Linked DNA regions of Homo sapiens: region 1 is linked to region 2. The links are contacts of gene promoters, found by promoter capture Hi-C in blood cells and fetal thymus (Javierre and others, 2016). All regions are on one chromosome and are shown on one strand. The core of a region is centred on a gene start or on the middle of the fragment in contact, and the rest is flanking DNA. Distances in the headings are between cores, read along the strand shown. Region 1 overlaps CNNM1 (cyclin and CBS domain divalent metal cation transport mediator 1). Region 2 holds the start of ENTPD7 (ectonucleoside triphosphate diphosphohydrolase 7).

Region 1 (4,962 bases), core at 304-2,803, 260 kb after region 2:
GCTTTAGAGGGTTTTACTAGTGGCTAAAGGAAAAACTACAATGTGTTCTTACAGTATAGCTTCCTTCAGTGAACTCACCATATAACTCCCTGGTGATTTTGCGGGCTTGTCATTTGGAGGCCAGCTGTCTTATGTTACTTAAGAAACTGGACTTCTTGGACTGTGAGAGGAGATGACATCACTCAGGTTGATTATAGAACATCAGCCCGTTCCCTGCTGTCAGAGTCCCTCCTGGTTTATTGAAACAGAACCACAAAAACATACATCACAATTTCCAGAGTCCAAGGGCCGCTCCAAATGGCCATTTTGTAGAATTTGGTGGGGTTTGATGTTACTTAACACAAGAGGTCTATTAATTGGAGTTTTTAAGTATTTAAAGTTAATTCTTGTGATTTTAATAGGATCTGCCACTTTCTAGGACTCATTTGGGTTGTTAGAAAATCCTGCAGTCCTGAGGGATGACTGGGGCCTCAGAAGTCATCAAGTCCTGCCTCTCCGCCAGTGAAATAGTCTCTCCATATTGTCTCTGACTCATCCATTTCAACTGGTGGGGTGGTAGTGGTGATGGATTCTTTAAATACCTGGTGAGGCATCCCCTTCTGCTGGTGGGGCCTCTTAATTAAAAAAAAAGAGGCTCATTTACCTTTTGCTCACGGTAAAAGTTCATCTACCTTGAACCAGAATTTGATCTTTGTTCCACTCCCCTGCCCCTCCTTTCCTTCCTTTAAACCACAGATAGTAAATCTACTGGCACTTCTAATCTACCACCTTTCAAATATTTGAAAGTAGCAGTTGTCATTCCTTGTTTACACTTTTCCACATGAACTGCCTCTCCCCCACCACTTTTGTTTCTGCACAGGATGTGGTTTCCAGATCCTTCCCTGTCTGGCTGGAGCCCCAGGAGTTCTTCAGAGGACACTCACTCTGCCAGTGTGTGGTTGGGCTGGTGGAAGTTCATGAGTGAATGTGATTAGATGCCCTCCCACCCATCTCTTCACAGCTTTCTGAACATATCAGTCTTTGTTCTCCTCCCAATGTAAAGATGCTTGTTGTTAGTAAGGGAAGGCAGCCAACAGAGAAGTCGAATGATTCTACCTTCTGTCAATCTGCCATTCTCTCCAAACGCTTTCAACCACTCATTCTCCATGGGGACGATACTGCCTCCATGGGGACGAAAATTGGCTCTCTGGGGCAAAAAAAAAAAAAGCCTGAAATACTAAAATGTTGCCTTCCAAAGTGCAATCCTACCTGACCATCTTATTAGTATTTAATTTCTCTTGTTAGGGAAAATTAAAATTTTCTCTTTAGGGGGCTGCCAAAACCATTAAAGATAAACACATCTTTAAATCTAAGTGACAGTACCAAAGTGCTCAAATGTTTTTAGCCTTGAAAAAAGCCCATCTCAATGGGAATCTGGCCTTCTTCTATTCCGACAGATATGTTGGTTGGTGTGGTTCCCACTGCGTTCACCTGAAAAAGGGCTGTGAGTTTGGGAAGCCGGCAGGACTCCTCAGGCCTCTGACATGCCAGTGAACTTCAGAGGTGGGATTGTTTCACCAATTTTGCTCACTCAAGAGCAGGGCACTCCAACCTCCAGGCTCTGCCAGTTCCCAGGTGTGTAACCGTGAGCAAGAAGACAGTAACCTTGCAGACAGTAACCCCTCCTCCACAGGGTGGTTGAGAAAGAAATGAGCTAATGGGTACTTAACAGAATACTTGGAACATAAAGCCCTTGGCAAAATAGTTGTTTCCATTATTTATTATTACCGTTAGTGAAATGAATAGCCTCTACTGAGGTTCCTGAGAAGAATCTTAAGAGGTTTTGGCATAGGCCCCTGATCCTCCTGTTTGCTTTGAGAAATGAGTAGTAGGTGTCAGATTTCAGCCTTCCTTCCACACAGGTATTATATGCCCAAACACATCTTCCCACCTGCCTGGCTGTTCCCTCCCTCCAGCATCGGCTTAAAACTGACCAACAGGCCTGGCCCATTCTTGTGTTCCGTTCCCTAGCCTTTGGTTGCAAACTGCCAGAGTCATGCCACTTGGACTCCTTTCTGAAGGTTCTGCAGAAGCGAGCTAGTGTGACCAACATTCTGTCTCAGGGGCTTGTCTGGGTTTAGCCCCCAAGACCCTGAATTTGGACGGCACCCAGCACAGCACCTCACCCATCACATGGGTTCAGCAAATGCCAGCCCTTCTCACTGTCGTCTTAGTTCCTTCCTCGTCTTTATGCATACTGGCTTCTCATTTGGGTTTTACTTCTCATTTCTGGCATTCACTCCTGCAAAATCTTACCATCTGGCCTCCCAAAGTAGTGTGCCAAGGCTTCCCCGTGACCTCACCGCAGCCTCACACCTGGCCCGGAGCGGCATGCCTCTTCAGGCAGGTGGTGCACAGGTGAGATCATCACACGTGGGCATCACTCAACCTGCATCTCAAATGAAGCCACGTCAGAAGATTCCAGGGGCAAGGAAAACAGCCACATTCCAGGAAAGGCATTTTCATTTTATTTAAAAATTATTTACAATTTATTAAGCCTTCATAAATGCTTTATTTTAAAATCTTTTTTTTAAACTTTTTTTTTAACCTGAAGAAAATCTTTGTGGGGTGGGGGTATATAGGGAGGGGAGTGGTGACAGGCTCCATAGGGATTTTGCAAAGGGATGGGTGTAATGCAACAGCAGTGGCTTGAGCCTGGTGGCCTCAGGTGATGAAGACCAGCCAGGCAGGCACCCCGGGGCCAGTGGTCAGCTGGGCAAGAAGCCTGCATGATGGTAGTTCTTGTTCAAAACTCACCATTTATTGGTTTGGGTCTAAGTACCCAACATTGAGGGCTGACACTTCGCCTGTTCCTACCAGGCAAGAGCAGGTGTTGGGACTGGATGACTGTGAAGTTATCTACGAGAAGTCATGCACTGCTGAGCCTCAGGCCAGGCCAGGCAAGGGGTGTGGTGAAGTCAATAATCATTGCTGGAAAAGGCTTCTCTAGCTCCAAAGTCTTTACTTCCACACGCTGTGGCCCTCCTGTCTGCAACACCTGCTCTGGGTTGTTGGGGAAGAGGGGACAAAGTTATGTGGGGGTGTTGGTTGTACAATACTCTAGGGTGTGCCGAGAATTTCTGAGGACTTCCACTTCTTGGTGGGTGCCAGCCTTCCCCATCAATTGATGGACATTTGAAAAGACCACTTATGATTAAAAACCTGTCTCGAACTGCCCAGTATCCACTTCACTCTGCATTGCAGAAACGCTGGGCTGAAAGTTCCACTATTTAAAATAGTAGTGTTTTTTTTTGTTTGTCTGTTTGTTTTAACTCTTTGTAGGTCTGAGACCTTTGAGAACCTTATGAAAGCTTTAATGCTCTGGAAAAAACATACAAGAATAAATACATTAAATACTGACAGTTTTAGGGGTTTCATAGACCCTCTGAAGTCCAACTATGGACCCCCTGGGGTGATGGACCCCAAGTTAAGAACCCCTGAGTTAACAGTTCCTGTGGGTAAGCATTTTCTTTTGAGATGCAGATAACCCAGAGGAATGATCAGTCTCCCTCCTGCCTGTGAATGACTCAATGGGTGTGGGGAGGTGGGAGGGAGGGTTTTGGAGGAAGGGGAGGGAAGCTGGATGGTATACTACGGGGAAAGGTTTGGGAATGGTTTGGAGATTTAGCAGACAGCACTCGATCAATGAGTTCAGTGAGTACTTGACTGAGAACATCTAAAGAGTAGGAGACAGATCAGAAAGGGAGATAGTTATTCTGAAGACAAATTTCACTTACTTCCAAGTTTTCCCTAAGGCTGGCTGTGGTTGCTTTTCTTTTCTTTTCTCTTTCTTTCTTTCTTTTTTTTTTTTGCGGGGGGAGACAGAGTCTCGCTCTGTTGCCTAGGATGAAGTGCAGTGGTGTGATCTCAGCTCACTGCAACCTCTGCCTCCCAGGTTCAAGCGATTCTCCTGCCTCAGCCTCCCGAGTAGCTGGGACTACATGCCCAGGAGAGATGGGGTTTCACCATGTTGGCCAGGCTGGTCTCAAACTCCTGACTTCAAGTGATCCACCCGCCTCGGTCTTCCAAACTGTTGGGATTACAGGTGTGAGCCACCGCGCCCGGCTTTGCGGTTGCTTTTCAGAACTGTTTTATTCTTGGAAGCAGGTATGCGCGGTCACTCTGCCATCTGGTGGTTATGCTTGGAATTGCACCTGCCCCAACTTCAGGAGAAAAACCAGAGATCCAGTAAGTTCTTGGAATAAAGTACACTCAGCTGATCTGCTAGGGTGTAGTAAGGGGGTGGGAGAAGGACAAATGCATGAAAAAGAAGAATGATTCTTCAACATTCCTGTGTAACTCCCACTGAAGTCCCATGAGATTATGTATCTTTCTTGGCTGACCTGGGCACTCTTTGGTTTGTCATGGCTAAACTTGCTTTCAGCACTTACAGTTTTTCCATGTAAGTTTTGTTTGTTTTTTGCTTTGATTTGCACTTAAGACCTGAAGTTCCATCTCTGGCTCCCAGTTGGGTCTCTCTGCTCCCTGTTCCTTCTCTTCCAGAGCAGAATTATTGATCGATTGAAGACTGCTGATTGGGAGCCAAAACAGATGTGTCCCTGGTAAAAACAGTGACTTGAGGTTCCATCTCACATTCTTTCCATTCCAGCTGAGACATACTGCCCCAGGCTGCTGGAACCCTTATCTAACAGGAAACCAGTCACTAACAGTTTTCTGTGCTGTAATGTCAATCACGCGCCAACATGGCTGAGTCCCACTTCTTTAAAGCTCTGGGGGAAATTCTTGGTCCATCCCCTGAACTAATCTTCAGACCTCCTACTCCAGCCTCCCATGTGCCTGTCTGCCAATGGCACCTTCTGAGCCAAGCTATGCATGAAATGTGTTAGAAAGTTAACATTTTGTTCTGGAGGAAAGAATGGCAAGTTCCAAGACGATAGGTCTCCTATGGCATCAGGGGACCCA
Region 2 (4,693 bases), core at 1,066-3,565:
TTCATGCAGTATCAGTATTCCTGTACCAAACTGCATATTGCCAAAATAGGGCTTAAAATCTTCTTTATGTAATAAATGGCATGCAATTTTACTAATAAAAGTACAGTATCACCCAAAAGGGTCAAAGTCAGTAGTGTGTTAAACAGCTTATGAAAATATTTATGACTTGAGTGCCAAAATCTAAAGCTGACTCACCTTTCGTATTGCCTATCTCGTGGTAATGAAGCACTCCAATGTCGAAAGTCTATGATTAACATAAGTAAAAGGAGACAGGATATGAAGAAGAGTCCCAGGAATGCCACCCGCTGACGGAGAAATGGACTCACTGTGGGCACAGTGAAGTACCAGGAGGCTGGGCAGAGGTAGGAAAAACTGATCCTGAAATTAGACAAACATTAGTAAGTCTGAAACATTTCTACAACTGAGTGCTTAAATATCGTTTTAAAATTGGATAAAACCCTCCTAATAAAGGCAAAAATCCATGCCAACAGAAGTCTAAATGTTCTTGTCATCTCTAATTTTAGAAGAAGCTCATGGTGCTTCTACTATATATATCAGAAAAGCCTTATCTGCCCTTTTTCCAAACTGCACTTTGAGTGCAATTCAAAGACTTAATCTCATGTTAGTGAAAAGATCACCAGTCTCCCTGGGCAACCTCATAACATTGGAGAATCAGAGCAACTACAGTATTCCCAACCAAGAATTCTGTCAAGAAACAGGATGGTCAGAAAATTTATTTAACTGATTTTAAAAATGTTTTACCAGATTATACAAGCACATAGTAAAAGACAAATCAGTTTAAAAGGATATATTGTATAGTGAAAAGTGATTCTTGCCCTGACCCCACAATCTCTCAGAGGCAAACATTACTACCCAGTTGCTGTGTAATTTTTTTTTTTTTTGAGATGGAGTCTTGCTCTGTTGCCCAGGCTGGAGTGTAGTAGCGCAATCTCAGCTCACTGCAACCTCCACCTCCTGGGTTCAAGCGATTCTTCTCCCTCAGCCTCCCCAGTAGCTGGGATTACAGGTGACTGCCACCACACCCGGCTAATTTTCGTATTTTTAGTAGAGACCGGGTTTCTACTTGGCCAGGCTGGTCCTGAACTCCTGACCTCAGGTGATCTGCCTGCCTTGGCCTCCCAAAGTGCTGGGATTACAGGCGTGAGCTACTGCACCTGGCCGTTGCTGTGTATCTTTCCAGGGATATTCTACGGATACACAAGCATAAATATACACCAATATATTTACAGTAATATATCTCTGTGTGTGTGTGTGTGTGTGTGTGTGTGTGTGTGTGCGTATCCATTCCCTCGGTTTTACACAAATGGTAGTCCACCATACCTGCTGTTCTGCATCTTTCCCCCACTTTATTTTATAACTTTCCCTTATTGGTGCATGTAGATCCACATTAATATTTTTTAAAAGCTTCAGGTTATTATAATGTATGGATAAGTGTATTCATCTGTGAAGTTCACTTTGTATATTGATTCAAAAGGACCTCGGTCTGTCTGCTTTTAAAGTTCACTGCAAACAAAAAACAAAAAAACTTCTTTGTTTAACCTCCTCAAGTGGCACCTAGCCTTGCTCAGATGCGAATCTGAATCAATGTTACAACCTTGCACTTTACAGAGCTGAGCAAGCCGACTCACTCTACCACTCCTGGTCTATGGGCTAGAAACTATTATTTATCAGCCCTCGAAATAATACAACTTTGATCGTCTCTGCATCCAACTAACCAGAATACAAAGTCCAAGTGCAGCTCCAGGGCAAACCTCACTTGGGACAGCCTCCCAGGGCCCCCCAACCTGCCTGCCATCCTCTGCCGTGCTCCCAGCCGGAGGGAAAGTGTGCAGCCTTACCTAGCCATGGGTTCCCTTCGGTGGTCTCAACGCCTGTCACCTTCTTTTTCTTTTGCCCTGAGAAGGTGGCCTCCTTGTCCCAGGCATCTCCTACGTCTGCAGCCTAGAAAGATTTGATTTCAGGCTTCTGTCCGACTGAGCCCACGAGACAAACCTGCACGGGAATTCCACGGCTCCCACCTCCTCCCCAGGCTCCCGCTCCGTCTGCTCTGGTTCCTCAGGCCCAGGGGACCCTACCCGGGCATCCTGGGAGCGGGGCGTTCTCGTGGGCCAGCTCTGTCCTCTAGGAACCGGTCGTCCCCAGGTGGCGGGGTGTGGGTCCCGCTTCCTCTCCCCGTCCCTCCGGGTCCCACAGCCCTCTCGCGCCCACACTCACGGGATCAAGCGGCCCGCCGGTTCCTTCGGCACCTCTCGGTTCAGTCCCGAGCTGCTCCCCGCGGCCCCTTGCCCAGCCGGAAGGAGGGCCCGGCCGGCGGCGGCGCCACGTCCCCAAGGAAACCGCAGGGAGCCAATGACTGACAGAAGACTCACGGAGGGGCCGGCTCTCCACGAGCCGAACCGGGGGCGAACCAGCTCGGTCAGCAGCACGTCCGTCCGCCAGGGTGGCCAATCCCCTAGAGCGCTCGGCCTCTGATGCCCGCCCCGGGACTTTGAGCCGCGCCCAATCGGAAAGGCGTCGTACCGAGGCTCCGCCTGCAGGGCCCGCGGAGAGCTCACAGGTGAGTGGCGCTGGGCGGCCCTGTGCCCGCTTCCCTCCCTGGGGCGCGAACTCTCGGCTGGTTGCTTTCTCCACGGCCGCTCCTGGGACAGAGTAGCTCCGGTAGGTGGGTTCAGGGTGTTCGCGACCGAAGCGCATCCCTTGCCCATAACCTATTGTTGGTTTTGTGCCCACTGACCCTCCCTACCAGAATGGCAGTTCTCTCACCTTAAACCTTCCCTATCACCTCCCAAACTGATGCCCCGACCTCACTGTCTTGCCCCGTGAGAAAACAGAAATCGAAGACAATGACGTTTACACCAAAGTGCTTATGTCCATTCATTCATTCATTGAATGTCTGCTTATGCCAGTCATCATGAATTTCTGTGTCGCCGCCCTCCTTGACCTTACAGTAACACAAAGGAAACGACGCGCGCGCGTGGGTGTGTGTGTGTTTCTTTCTTGCTTACACCAGCCGTTATCTCATTTCCAGGAGGACGGCATAAAGTCCAAGCTCTTTCCAACGTGGCACATCCATTGCGCCCCACGATCCGCCCTACCGCCGTCCTCTGCCGCTACTTGCCTTCCTTACCACGCTCCAGCAACGCGTCCTGTTTTGCTCATTCTGCCCCTCCACCTGCCTTGAATAACCGTCCCAGCCTCTTAGCCAAATCACCTCCTACTCATCCCTTACCACCCATCTTAAGGGTCGCCTTCCCCTAAAAGCCCTACTTGACCTACTACACCTTTTTTATACATGCCTATTGTTTCACTTAGCACGTTGAATTACTATTATACGTATATGTCTGTCTGTCTGTCCCACTAGACAGAATATCCTTGAAGGCAGGGACTATTTGCTTCCACATATTCCCAATACTGGCCACTGCCTGGCAGATAAAACACAACTAATGTATAATTAATAAGCAAATGAATGAATGGGGGGGATCGGGGAGGAAGACCACCCAAATGCTTTATTTATTCAAAGCTTACTATGACAAGGGAGTCAGTCACCATCACTTGCATTTGGCCGACTCAAAGCCTGTCAGGACATTAGGAAAACTACTTACTTACTTAATTACCTACAGGGTCTCACTCTGTTGTCATCCAGGCTGGAGTGCAGTGGTGCGATCGTGGTTCACTGCAGCCTCGACCTCCTGAGCAAGCGATCCTCCCACCTCAACCTCCTGAGTAGCTGGCTCTACAGGCACGTGCCACCATGCCCAGCTTATTTTTTTTTAATTCTTTGTAGAGATGGAGTCTCACTATGTTGTCCAGGCTGGTCTTGAACTCCTGGGCTCAAGCAGTCTTCCTGTCTCAGCCTCCCAAAGTGCTGGGATTACAGGGATGAGCAGCTGCACCTGGCCAGGAAAGCTTAGTAGTGAACAAAAAGGGAAGGTTTCATGTATACTCTGACTTGAGGGTATTAGCATGGGAAAGCTGGAGGTGGGCTAACAAAAGTAGTGTCTCTTAGGTGATTGGTTTGGGGTAGGTAGCATATTTGGCTGTCTTTAGTGGGTTCTGAGTTGAAGAAAGGAGGCGGCAAAAAACAGGGAAACTGAGTCATTGACCAAGTCCTGATTATTCTCGGCTGGTTGCTGTAGAGGTTGTGGGTCAGAGTTCTAATTGTCATATAAGATCTAGCCATTGTCCAGTTTCTATATTCAGTTCTCATGACTATTGTTTTTTTGGCTCCACTACTCTCCTAACCTTGTTGAACTTCCTAATTTGCCTTTCTTCTTCAATTCTCAGTTCTCAGTTTTTTTTTCTCTGTCCCTCAATCCCCACTCTGCTTCAAGTGTTATATTTTATCTGGACCCCCAGAAACCACATTGAATAGAATAGTTGCATAAAGTTGGGATTAACCACAACATTATACAGATACCAGTTATTTTTATTATTTCAGAACCCAGTTCAGTTCCTAGAACAAAATAGATATGGAAAGAACTAAAATAATGTTTTGGAGTAATTTTTAAAAATTTCTTGAATTTACCTTCTGTGAGTTCTAAGTCTAATCTCTATACATATATATTTCAAACTTTAGTGTTCCACAAAATAGGTGTTTTTGAGTGGAAGTATAATTCCTATTTTTAAAATAGTACTTAATTCCTATGGTTTATGAACTATATTAACTTATAAT

The links. Contacts are between HindIII fragments. The CHiCAGO score rates a contact against its expected background, and 5 or more counts as called.
Region 1: a contact is called between a fragment that was not itself captured here and the fragment with the promoter of ENTPD7 in region 2, in 1 of 17 cell types (total CD8 T cells). The highest score is 5.4, in total CD8 T cells.

The regions. Positions count from the first base shown.
Region 1 is chr10:99,391,853-99,396,814 of GRCh38, reverse strand. CNNM1 (cyclin and CBS domain divalent metal cation transport mediator 1) reads right to left here. Exons shown (of 11, transcript NM_020348.3): 11 at 2,485-4,962. Among named protein-coding and RNA genes, the nearest start is that of GOT1, 36 kb to the left of the region's middle. The HindIII fragment of the contact is 3,598 bases long and covers 1-3,352 here.
Region 2 is chr10:99,657,131-99,661,823 of GRCh38, reverse strand. It overlaps ENTPD7 (ectonucleoside triphosphate diphosphohydrolase 7), which reads right to left and starts at 2,315. Exons shown (of 13, transcript NM_020354.5): 1 at 2,236-2,315; 2 at 1,860-1,962; 3 at 196-378. The coding sequence starts at 1,867. It also overlaps a transcript of SLC25A28 not described here. RefSeq lists silencers at 2,087-2,306, 2,427-2,636. The HindIII fragment of the contact is 2,116 bases long and covers 1,428-3,543 here.